Regions from separate parts of the Homo sapiens genome. Here regions 1, 2 and 3 are each linked to region 4. The links are contacts of gene promoters, found by promoter capture Hi-C in blood cells and fetal thymus (Javierre and others, 2016). All regions are on one chromosome and are shown on one strand. The core of a region is centred on a gene start or on the middle of the fragment in contact, and the rest is flanking DNA. Distances in the headings are between cores, read along the strand shown. Region 1 holds the start of GCGR (glucagon receptor). Region 2 holds the start of UTS2R (urotensin 2 receptor). Region 3 holds the start of ARL16 (ARF like GTPase 16). Region 4 holds the start of FASN (fatty acid synthase).

Region 1 (2,700 bases), core at 201-2,700, 290 kb before region 4:
AGGGGGAATGGCTGGGGTTAAGACCCTGGGTTCCCACGCCCCCAAAACAGAAGTAGAATTAGGGAGAAAGGACCCCCAAGACCAAGGACGGCACCTATCAGAGGAGCTCTCCACGGGCAGGAGGTGTCCCAGGGTGAGGGTGGCCAGGACAGGTCTAGGGAAATGCAGGTGGAGCAGGACCCAGAGATGGATTGGAGATGCCGGAGGGGAGGCTTCCTAGCGGGAGCGGAGACAGGCACTGCAGACAAGTGTCAGCGGGAGGGGCTCTGGGTGGGGAAGAAGACTGGGACTTGGAGGAAGACCTCTCCAGGGAGAAGGGAGGAGGGGGAAGGAGAAGGGGAGGAAGTGGGAGGAGGAGAGTGCTCATCCTGGAAGCCACAGCCTCGGAGAGAACTTTCTAGAAGGAAGGCATGACCATCAGTGTCCCAGGATGCTGAGAGGCCAGGAAAGGTGAGGCCTCAAGGCGCCATGGGGTTGTGGTGACCCCAAGATCACTGGGCACAGAGCAGGGATGGCTGGGGGTGGAAGGGGAGGGGCGCGGGCTGAGGTTCTAGGGCCCCAAAGCCAGGTGTGATGTGGCTCTAGGGGGAGTGAGGAAGGGGAGAATGTCCCTCTGAGCGTGCCTCTTGGGGAAGGCAGGGGTTCTGGCTGGGGCTTCTCCACTCCCAGGAAAGGAGGTGGTGTGGAAGGAGCGGGTGGGACGGAGGAGAGAGCGCCCCGCGGCCGCAGGACCAGCAGGTGGGGGACCAGGGTCAGCGCTGCTGGAGGGGCCTTAGCGCGACAGGACTGGCCAGAGACCGGGGATGTGGCACAGAAAGAGTTAAAGGGCACCCCAGGGACCGCCCTGCCGGTCCACCCATGTCACCCATGTTGGCCCCTACTCCAGCCCCCGTCTGCTCTGCAGGGGAAGGAACCGGGAGCCGCGGTGGGGGCGACTGGGGGTGTCGGTCTTTCCAGAAAATCAGGCAGGCATCAGGAAAGAAGGGGCGAGAACCCGGGGACGCGAGAGGAAGGGGGCGAGGGGGCGCCCAGGGAGGCGGAGGGAGCGAGAGGAAGGGGGGCTGAGCCACGGCCCCCACGCCCGCGCGCCCCTCCGCGTCCCAGGGCGTCCCCTCCCGGAGCTGGGACCCACCGCGACCACCACCTGCTGGGCCAGGGTCCGCGGGCTCAGGGGTCTGCAGGATTAGGGTCTGCGGAACCAGGACCCGTGGGACAAAGGTCTGTGGGGCGCGGGTCCGCGGGGTGGAATTCAGCGCGCCGAGTCTGCGTATGGCCGGGGTACGAGGCGCTCCCTGCGCAGGGTGGGCAGGACCGAAGCTCGCCGGGAGGCTGCGCGGAGGGCGGGCGGGGACCCTCGGCTGCCGCTCCCACCCCCGCGGGGCCGCCCCCGAGCCCGCCCTCCGCCGCCGCCCTCGCCCTGCGTCGCCGCCGGAAAGTTTGCACCGACCCCGATCTGGCAGCGCCGCGAAGACGAGCGGTCACCGGCGCCCGACCCGAGCGCGCCCAGAGGACGGCGGGGAGCCAAGCCGACCCCCGAGCAGCGCCGCGCGGTGAGCACCTGGGCCGCGGCCCCGAGGGGACGTTGGGGAGTCGACCCGGTGGGGACAGAGACCGCGGGGCGGGCGCGGCGGGGCCGGGGGCGCGGGGAGCGGGGAGCCGGCCGGGCGGTCTCCGGGGTCCGGGCTGGTGCGCTCCTCAGTCCCGTCAGACACCCCCGTTCCCAACCCCGGCTCGGACACCACCCGGTCCTGCACCGTCGGGCAGGTCCAGGGGTCTCAGCCCCTCCCCCGTTCTCTGGTCCTGGGGGGCGCGGCTGGGGGCGGGGGTGTCGCTGGCCGCCTGGCGCCCTGCGGCGGCCACACTGCAGCGGCCACACTCCCCACTCAGGGCCCCGGGCCCCGCCGCCCTGGGGAGCGCACAAAGCGCCGCGGACGCGTCCCCGAGGCGCGGGGTCTCACCAGCGCTGTCTCCCCTCGGTGGGCTCCTGCCCCGAGGACTGCCCGGTGGCACCGGCGCGGCCCAGGATGGGGTGAGGGGTGTCTGCGCCCCGCCTGGCCGCTCCTCTTCCGCGGCCCACACTGGCGACTTTGACCCCGGCAAGCGGGTCACTGCCCTGCCCGGCTCCGGCCCCCCCGGCGCCCCACCACCCGGCCGACTCGGCCACCGGGCTTATGCTCCGACTCTGAACCGACTGACCCCGGCCCCCTCGGCGCCCGCATCCTCCAAGGACCGGCCAGGGCTGCTCTCTGCCCTTGGTATTGGGGACATCAGGGTTGGGGGGTCTGGGTGCACCCACGCCTGCCCCGCCCCCACGGGGTGAGGGCGCAGGGATAGGGCTTTGTCAACAGCCTGTGGCCCCTGATCCCGCCCCGGTGCCCTGACCTTCCACTACCTTCTCTGGTTTCACAAAAACATCCCGGCTCCCATCCCGGAGCTCCTCAAAGCGTCTGAGAGGCCCCTTGCGGACGCCCTGGGAGCCCCGCTGCCTTCCTGGACCAGTGGCCGCTCCACCCATCCTGGGGGCCCAGCTCCAGGTCTGCGGGTCCCTCAGCCGCCCCCAGTGGGAATCGGTGGAGCCTGACGCAGCCAGGAGCGCCCAAGAGTCACGTGTTCTGCCAGGGAGGACATGGGACAGGACACGGGGTGCCAGCCCTGCAAAGCGGCCGGGGCAGTGGAGCTCAGGTGGCCCTAAGCCCTGGT
Region 2 (2,700 bases), core at 186-2,685, 270 kb after region 4:
AAAAAAATAAATAAATAAATAATAAAAAAATAAAATAAAAAATAAAAAACCCGGTGTTCGTGTCAGGGCAGGTCGTTTCAGCAGCTACTCGGTGAACTGGCTGAGGTGACAGCAGATCGTTTCGGCAGCTGGCTTGCGGGAAATTTAATTCTTGGAGCAGGCATTCTGGGTCCTGAGTGCTTTTCCCCAGCCCTAGCCCCTAGACTCCAGCTTAGTAATCAGCTCTCACAGAACCATCACGTCGGAGGCAGCCTTCCACCCCCTTTCCTCCCGCGCACAGGCAGGATGAGCTGCTCCCCTTTCGGGTCGGAAGCTGCAGCTGTATTTGGTTTCAGTTCGGCTGTTTTCAGCTCACAGAGAATGAACTGTCTTATTGTGTGACCCTTGCTCCGTCCAGCGGACGCTCGGAGACCAGAGGGACTTTTCCCGCCCTCTCCAGCCCAGCCTCGCCTCCCCAGCACGTGGCAAACGTCCCACGGAGGGGACTGGTGGGCATCTGGGGCTCCCCCGGATCCAGCTGATTGCAGGAGCCTCTCGGCCATTCACACTTGGCCACCTCCTCTCCCCCAGCAGAACCCCTTCAGCTTTAGGGGCCGGTCCGCGGCCTCAGGCAGCAGATGAGCCCCGGGCGGAGTGGAGTGGGCGAGGCCAGCTCCTCGCTGGGGGCCCTTTAGACCCCGTGTTCACAGCTCTCCAGCTCTCCTCTAGTCTAATTTATTAATGTTCTGTGTCTTTTTCTTTCAGGGGTTCAGCATGAGTGAAGGCCCACATCCTACCTCCGAGCAGCAAGTGAAACCGAGTGGGGGCCAGCACCCAGCTCAGGGGCTCGAGGGTGAGGCTGTGGGGTCCTTCCTCCTACCCCGCGGGGCCCTGCAGCTCCCAGCGTCACTTCCGTGGATGTGGCCACCACGAGTCCCTGCCGAGGCCTGGAGAGGCTGCGTGGGCTTCTAAGAGCATCTGTGGGAGACCCGCAACAGGGGCGGGGTCAAGGCCCCCAAAGAGCCCGTCCCCGCCTGGGCGGGTGACTCCCTCCCTCCCTTACCTCCTTTCTATGACCCTCTCGGGGTTTAGGGGTGTTCCTGCCCCCCACCTGCGCGCGGGCGGGTCCAGGGCTTGGTGGACACGGAGAATCCCAGGCTCCGTGCCCTGCAAACACGGGCGTGAGGGGCGCAGGGGTGAACGCTGGAGGCGGAGAACCCAAGAGGGGCTGCGGGGTCAGCCTTGGGGCAGCCGGGCTGGAGGCAGCTTCGCTCCGCAGACGCAGACGCGAGACCCGCCTGGGACCCTCCGCCGACCCCGCTGCGGCCCCGCGACCCCCGCGTCTTCCCGGCGCCGCGCGGTCAGCGCCGCCCCCTAGACACCCGGCGCCGTCCCCTCCGCGCGCCTGCTGCCCGCTGGGGTTATTTTAATACCGGGCCCTGGCGCGGGGCGCGGCGCATTCCCAGCTGGCGGCGGGCAGGTGGCGGCGGCGCAGAGACCCGGCGCGGGGCGGGGGGCGCGGCTTTGGTGGCGGGACTGGCGGGCGCCCCTGCCGTGTGCTCTGGAAGCCGAGGCCACCGCGGAGCCCCTCGCGCCCCCTCTGCGCTGGGACAGGGGAGCGCGCCTCGGAAAGTTCCCCGCGGCCCCGCTGCGCGAGGAGTTTGGAGCCGCGAGCGGCTGCCCCCACGCGCGACCCCAGGCTCGGCGGGCAGGTCTGGCCGCTCAGTGACCGGAGGCAGGTGGGTCCTCGGTGGGTGACCGGGAGCGCGCGGGGACTGCCGGGTCTGTGCCCTTCGGGGCCCTCCGCAGGGCTGGGCCGGGGTTTCGCGGTGGGAACCCACCCTGGGCGAGGGGAGCGGGGTCCAGCGAGGCGGCTTCTCCCGTGCCGTGGAACTTTCGGCCCCTCCCCTTCCCCCCTAGCGACCCTGGAGCAATCCTAGCGGCCCGGCGGCCGCTGTCCCCCTGCCCGTGACTCGGGCTCGCGCACAACTGGGGAGCCCGGTGCACCCTCGGCTTCTGCGCCGTCCCCTGGGTGAGGGCTCTGGAAATGCCCTGGGTGGGGGCAGCAAGGGGGTGAGGGTCCCCTGGACAGATGGAGCTGGGAGCTGCTCGGCCTGGTGGGAAAGGGCGGACAGGGCACATTTCCAGGCCCTGGAAGGCCCCCAGCGCCCCCACCTGTTGACAACTCCCCACCCCAGCCAAGACTGCTCCCTGCGCAGCCATGAGTGTTCGGCCTAAATTCAGCGTGGCTCGTGGAATCAGGCAGCCTCCTGTGTCTTGTTTCTTCAGCCCACCACCGCGCTGTTTCATCCAGGCTGCTGACCCCAGCGGCGACTCCTTCACTGGCTTCATGTCACAGTTTGCCTGCCCCGTCCACTGGGGACATTTGAGCTGTTTCCAGCTTCTTAGGAGTCAAGCTGCCGTGAACTTTCGCACGCTTGTCATTTTCTGAACGTTGGCAGCCCTTTATCTAAGGTACTAACCTGAGAGTAGAATTGCCGGGTGAGAAGGTATAGGCGGTCAACTCTGCAAATCGTGCCAATGGCTTTCCAAAGCGGCGGCACAGTCCAGGTTCCCAGCAACAGGAAACGGCAGGGCCAGCTCCTCCACAGCCCCCACGCCTGTTGACAAGGATATCTGCCTTTTCACGCGTTCATCCTTGTCAGCACGCAGGGGCTCCTGTGGCCCTGACTGGCATTTCCCTGCTTGTTGGCTGCGTGG
Region 3 (2,700 bases), core at 1-2,500, 410 kb before region 4:
TAGCTTTAAACAAAGCTTTGGGAACAAGCAGAAGCAGAGGGAATCGAGTTTTATGAAGACGACCTGGTGTCACTCGTCTCTGTCCTCATGTGGCCATCAGTTCTCCATACTGGTATCCGCGGCACAGGCCTTATCAAGATGAGACCAACCAGAGGTACGTATAAGTCCAACATAAACACAGACGTACCGGGGAGTGACACAGAGGGCCAAGTCTGTTCTCTGCGGAGCAGCAGCCCTGCCCTCAGCAAGCCCTCTGTGAGCTCCTACCGGGGGCCTGGGAGCGCAAGCACCAGAAACCAGACAGGGTGCCCAGCAGGAAGCAACACTAGCTAAGACCTATTTCCATGAGTAGTATAGTCACTAAATAACCCAAACCCCTTTCTACACACAGCAAGGTTGGGGACTGGACGTCACAGAAATGTAGACACACTTCCCTAAAGGAAGCCCATATAGGATTACAACCCACCAGGAGAGAACGGCAGTTTCCATAGTAACTGGACCAGATGGGGCCCATGCACCCCCCAAGCTCCCGGATGGTGATCTTTCTCTGTGCCACGATGTCAGTAAGATTGGTGCCCACCTATAGGAAAAACCACGATGCAAAAAGAACAATACAACCGCTGTCCCGTTGTGAACTCCTGAAGAGCACCGTGCCCACACCTTACACGGTGGCCTGAACCCCGCAGACCCATTCTCCCTAACGCAGGAACGGCGAGCAGGGACCGACGCCCATCAGTAGCTGGACTCGCTGTGGGGGCGACCAGCCACAGGAAGCCGTTGCGAGGGGAGAGGAAGTGCCCGTGGAGGGCGGCAGGCCCCCTCATCCCGCGCCAATTATCCTCAGCTCGGGCCGTCCCCCGCTCCCGAAGGCTGGCCTTAAGTCACGACCTGACCCGCTGCGCCTCGGCGTGCACTTAGAGGAGCCCGGAGCTCTTCGCCAAGCGCAGAACTGACCCCCCGCAACTCCACCCGCGGGGGCGGACACCTACCGTGGGCCGTGTCGGGGGCGGCTCCCCCAGGTCGCCTTTCCCATCCCGGGAGCTCACCTGTGCGAAGCGGTCAAGGACCCGAGCAGCTAAAGGGTGAGTCCCCGCCCCACTCCGGGTGCCCCCCGCGCCCCGGTCCCGTCCCCGCGCGGAAGGATATCCTGCAGCCGTTTCACCAGCAGCGTCTTCCCGACGCCCGTGGCCCCCAGCAGGAGACACATTCCGTGCTTCGCTCCACCCGGCACCCGTAGCTCGGCGCCGCGGCTCAAGGCCCGCCCACCGGCCACTCTCATTGGATAGTTCTCACCTTCGGACTTCTCATTGGTTCTTAGGGCTCATTGTTCCAAGGGCGCGTCCAATTAGCGCGCAGCGTTAGCGGGAGAGCGGAAGACCCCGCCTCCTCGCGGCTCTAGGGCCGGCGCGGTGACGTGCGCGTGCGCGCACTGGAGGGAAAAGGCGGAAGCGGAAGTCGGGGGGCGCGCCAGCTCGTAGCAGGGGAGCGCCCGCGGCGTCGGGTTTGGGCTGGAGGTCGCCATGGGGCGAGGCAGCGGCACCTTCGAGCGTCTCCTAGGTAACGCGTCCCCACCCGACGGCTCGGCCTTGGTCAGCCCGCAGCCTCCGCCCGGCGCTGAGTCAGCGCGGCCCCGAGGGCCCGAGGGGCGCGGACCGGCCGCCCTGCCCGCCTCTCCCCGGCCCGCTGTCCTCCCGGGTTCGGAGCCGCCGATCCTGGACCCTCGGCGCGGCCGTGGGGTCGGCGTCCGTCGGGCGTTGGCAAATGGGGCTCTGCGAGGGTCCGCGCAGGGCGCCAGGGGCGCTCGGCGACCTCGCTCCTCCGCGGGCCCGGGCATTCGGCCGATTTCCTCTTGACCGACGAGCACCCGGCCGAGTGGGCCACAAGGCCTGAGTCATGAAAGTGGGTGACTCAGTCGGATGTTAGGCTCGCACTTGGGCTTCTGACCCAAAACACTGGGCCTCGAAGGGTGGAGCCGGCAGTGTTCTCTCTGGGACCTTCGAGCTCTCTTGGGGGCTGCGGGTCCCAGACCCACCTTTTGTTCCCACACTGGCTTCGGGAAGTGCCTAATGGTTTAGGAAGGCGTTTTCTCACGTTTTTGGAGGTGAAAGCTGATCCTATCTGAGCCTCCTGGAATTGACGCGTTTTGGGAGGGAAACGAATGTTGATGTGCACGTGCCCAGCAGCACGTGGAAAATGCGTCTAATGTTTGGGGGTAGGAGCTTGGGTGGTCGAATGGGCTGCCCAAGCTTGCCTTTTTGTCAAGTAGGGTTTTCAAGGAGACTTCAAGTGAGACACCTTCCTTGCCAAGGGAACCAGCAAGCAGACTGAGTATCTCAGCCACACAGGTAGTTCAGTGCTTCAGGGATGAATCCAGAGGTTAACTACTGAATCAGTATAGAAAGTGGACGTGGCTTGGCTTGTTAGATCGTTTCTGTATCCGGGAAAGGCGATGTGGGCAGAGCTGGAGCTGCCCCCCCAGAGGGGCCAGTTGTTGGAGACAGCAGTGATGTGGTATGATGACAGGTATGCTGGCGAGTCCTCCTTGGAGCCCCGTTCTGCCCTTATTTCCAAAGCACTTGGCTTGGAGCAAGGGGCCTGGAGTCTACACTGCAGGCCTCTCTAGCCCTTGCCCAAGCTAAGGTCCCATTGAAACCGGGAGCATCTGGGCGAACGGGGACTCCAAGGGACGGGTGATAGGGT
Region 4 (2,700 bases), core at 94-2,593:
GCCTCAGGTGGCCAGCCTGCTAAGGGCCATCAAAGAAATGGAGAGGCAGGGTCCCAAAGCCGGGGCATGGAGGTGGCTGGGAGCCCTAGAGGGGGGTACTCAGCACCCATGCTCACCCGTGTTGGGGTGGGGGCCCGCTGTCCAGGCCAGCCCAAGAGCCACCAGGGCTGGGGAGGGACGAAATGGGGATAGCCTATGCTCTGGGGGAAAGGTGGCCCCTGCCCCACTGTGGACCGACCCAGCCAGTCCAACCCCTCCAGCAGGGTCCAACCTGGAGAACCACTCCTGGCCAGGACACGCAGGTGTTGCCTGGCACCCTTCACCTGCGCGGGTGAACCCACAGACGCTTGCCTCCCCATACCAACCCACACACCACAGGAGGCCCTCCCTGGAGCCCAGGTCCCTAAGACCCGGAACGGGTGCCCAGGCCGCCGGCTCCTCCTCCAGCATGAGGGCTGGTGCGGCCCTGGGGGGAGGGGGCGGAGGCCAGCGCTGGTCTGGCCACTTGCACGAGGCCCCAGGGCCTGATACGCGCGCCGCCCCTCGGCAGTGCGGCCTCCCTTGGGCCGTCCCGGCAGGGAGGCGGCCGCCTTCCCACCCGCTGCGATTCACAGAGGCTTGGCTGCCCCGGGCCAGCTCCAGGCCCGCACGCTGGGTCCTCGCCGCTTGCTATTCACGCGGGGTCGACGGCCAGGCAGGGGGTGGGAACACCGCGGCGCGCCCGGCCTCCCTTCGCCCCGGGCGGGGGCTGCTCGGGACCCCTGCGCTTCGGCCGGGCTGCGCCACGTGATGGGGAGGCCGGTCCCGGCGCGGCCCCTGCGCCCCCCCGTTCCTCCCTCGCGGCGTCCCCTTCGGGCTGGGCCTCGGCTCCGGGGCGGCTCCGGGAGGAGGATGCGGCGGCGCCTTTGTGGGCGCGGGGAGGCCGAGCCGGGGGCTCCTCCAGGCCCTTCAGGGTCCGCGGCCTCCCCCACGGGAAGCGAAGGCGGCTGTTGGTGGCTTTCCCCGGCGTCCTTCCCCCGCCATCCGCCCACCTACTCCGCGGGGCCCCGGGCGCCTCCGAAGGGGCACGAACACCGAGACCCGGACAGGCCGCCCAGGCGACCCCTGGATACGGGGCCGGGCCACGCGCGCCCCGAGAGCGGAGGATGAGGAGCCGGGCCACCCCGGGAACCCCGGGCCCAGCCCCGACCACGACCCGCGCCCCGGCCCCAGCGCCGGCTGCTCGTACCTGGTGAGGGCGCGGGCGGCGGTGCGGGCGGCGGAGAGCGAGGCTGGAGCGCGGCGGAGCGGGAGGCTGAAGCGCGGCGGAGAGGGAGGCCGGGGCCGCTGCCGTCTCTCTGGCTCCCTCTAGGCCGGCGCCGACGCTATTTAAACCGCGGCCATCCCCGGGCGGCCACGCCACATGGGCTGACAGCTTGGCTGCGCCGCCCAGGCCAATGAGCGTCGGGGCTGCGCCCCGGGACCCGGCGCGCCGCCGCCGGTGGGGTGATGCTCGTGCGCGCCGCCGCCCGAGCCGGGACCCTGCGCGGGAACGCGCCTGGGGGGGTGGGGCTGGGACTGAGGAGCGCCGGGGGCGGGGCGGGCGGGAAACCACCGCCCCCCGACTTCCGCCTCCCGCCCCGCGGGCCCCGACGCGCACGCGGCTGCGACCGAGCCCGCGGCGCGCCTCCCGAGCCATCCCCGACCCCCGTGTCCGCCGGGGCCACGTGTGCGGGATGGGAATGCTTGGGCCACACTGGGGACTACCCCGTGGCCACACCGGGGGTCCAGCCGGCTGCGGCGGGGCGCTCGGACCCACAGGCGCGCGGAAGGACGGACGGACCCGCGTGCCCGCACTTCGGCCGCCGACTCCACGCCGCCGTCGCTGCCCGCGCGGAGCTGGCTGAGGGCGCGGCGTTGCGCGGCGCGGCGGCAGCAGCAACCAATCGGGCGCCAGGGGTGTTCGCACCGGCCCAATGGCGGCGCGCGGGTGGGCGTTGCTAGGCGATAGGGTGATGGGCGGGCGGCGGGGCGGTCCCGGATGCCTCGCGGGCCGCGGCGCAAGTGCGGGCGTTGACCCCGGCCGCGGGCGCCCCGGCCGGGGTTACTGCCGGTCATCGCAGCGCATCCCCGGTTTTCCTCGCGGGTGCGGCGGGGAACCCAGACCCGAGACGGACGTCCACCCACCCGACGGCCCCTCCTTAGCAGCTTCCCGGGGACCCGGACGAGGCGCAGGGCCGAACGGGCGAGCGCACTCCAGGCCGCTGGAGCTCGGCGGAGGGGAGGGGCGCGGCCACGTGGCGAGCGGAGTCGGCCGGGACACCCACCTGGTGTGGTGCGGACAAAGGGAGCCGCTGCCCCACTTCCCAGGGCGGAGGCTGCGAGTTTTCCAGGCGCGCACCCACGGGCGGGGGCTCAGCCCGGCCCTCGCGCGCTCCCTCCCTCCCGAGTGATTCCTCGAATCGTGGCCCCTTGGGCGGCCTGAGCCCTGAAGCGCGGCCTCCCTTTTCTGACCGCTTCGCGCTTGCGGGGCCAGGCACCCCATGGGGGGCAAGCGGGCCTTGTGAGGCCACAGGTGTCTCTGGCTGCGTGTCCTACTTTGAGGGCTCAGCAAGCCCGGGCCGCTGAAGGGGAACCGGAGACTGGGGCCCCCGGCCCCTCTGCAGGTGTCCCGCTTCCTTCCTCTCCTGAGAGCAGGCCTGAGGGTCAGGCGGCCACTCC

The links. The method cuts DNA at HindIII sites, captures the fragments that hold promoters and counts their contacts. A CHiCAGO score of 5 or more calls a contact.
Region 1: a contact is called between the fragment with the promoter of GCGR here and the fragment with the promoter of FASN in region 4, in 3 of 17 cell types (erythroblasts, monocytes and neutrophils). The highest score is 10.5, in erythroblasts.
Region 2: a contact is called between the fragment with the promoter of UTS2R here and the fragment with the promoter of FASN in region 4, in 2 of 17 cell types (neutrophils and monocytes). The highest score is 13.1, in neutrophils.
Region 3: a contact is called between the fragment with the promoter of ARL16 here and the fragment with the promoter of FASN in region 4, in 1 of 17 cell types (M0 macrophages). The highest score is 6.1, in M0 macrophages.

What each region holds. Positions count from the first base shown.
Region 1 is chr17:81,802,700-81,805,399 of GRCh38, forward strand. It overlaps GCGR (glucagon receptor), which reads left to right and starts at 1,451. Exons shown (of 14, transcript NM_000160.5): 1 at 1,451-1,550. It overlaps LOC105376789 (a long non-coding RNA gene), which reads right to left and starts at 2,046. Exons shown (of 4, transcript XR_001753046.3): 1 at 1,959-2,046. RefSeq lists an enhancer at 920-1,419. The HindIII fragment of the contact is 37,078 bases long and covers 1-2,700 here.
Region 2 is chr17:82,370,330-82,373,029 of GRCh38, forward strand. It overlaps UTS2R (urotensin 2 receptor), which reads left to right and starts at 1,436. Exons shown (of 3, transcript NM_018949.3): 1 at 1,436-1,718; 2 at 2,269-2,454. The HindIII fragment of the contact is 32,713 bases long and covers 1-2,700 here.
Region 3 is chr17:81,682,547-81,685,246 of GRCh38, forward strand. ARL16 (ARF like GTPase 16) reads right to left here and starts at 1,251. Exons shown (of 5, transcript NM_001040025.3): 1 at 1,147-1,251; 2 at 990-1,048; 3 at 467-580. The coding sequence starts at 1,207. It overlaps HGS (hepatocyte growth factor-regulated tyrosine kinase substrate), which reads left to right and starts at 1,465. Exons shown (of 22, transcript NM_004712.5): 1 at 1,465-1,557. The coding sequence starts at 1,521. RefSeq lists enhancers at 716-935, 1,153-1,447 and silencers at 1,036-1,115, 1,326-1,385, 1,596-1,695. The HindIII fragment of the contact is 2,231 bases long and covers 14-2,244 here.
Region 4 is chr17:82,096,893-82,099,592 of GRCh38, forward strand. It overlaps FASN (fatty acid synthase), which reads right to left and starts at 1,344. Exons shown (of 43, transcript NM_004104.5): 1 at 1,229-1,344. RefSeq lists an enhancer at 1-568 and silencers at 437-486, 547-756, 777-966, 1,037-2,516. The HindIII fragment of the contact is 59,862 bases long and covers 1-2,700 here.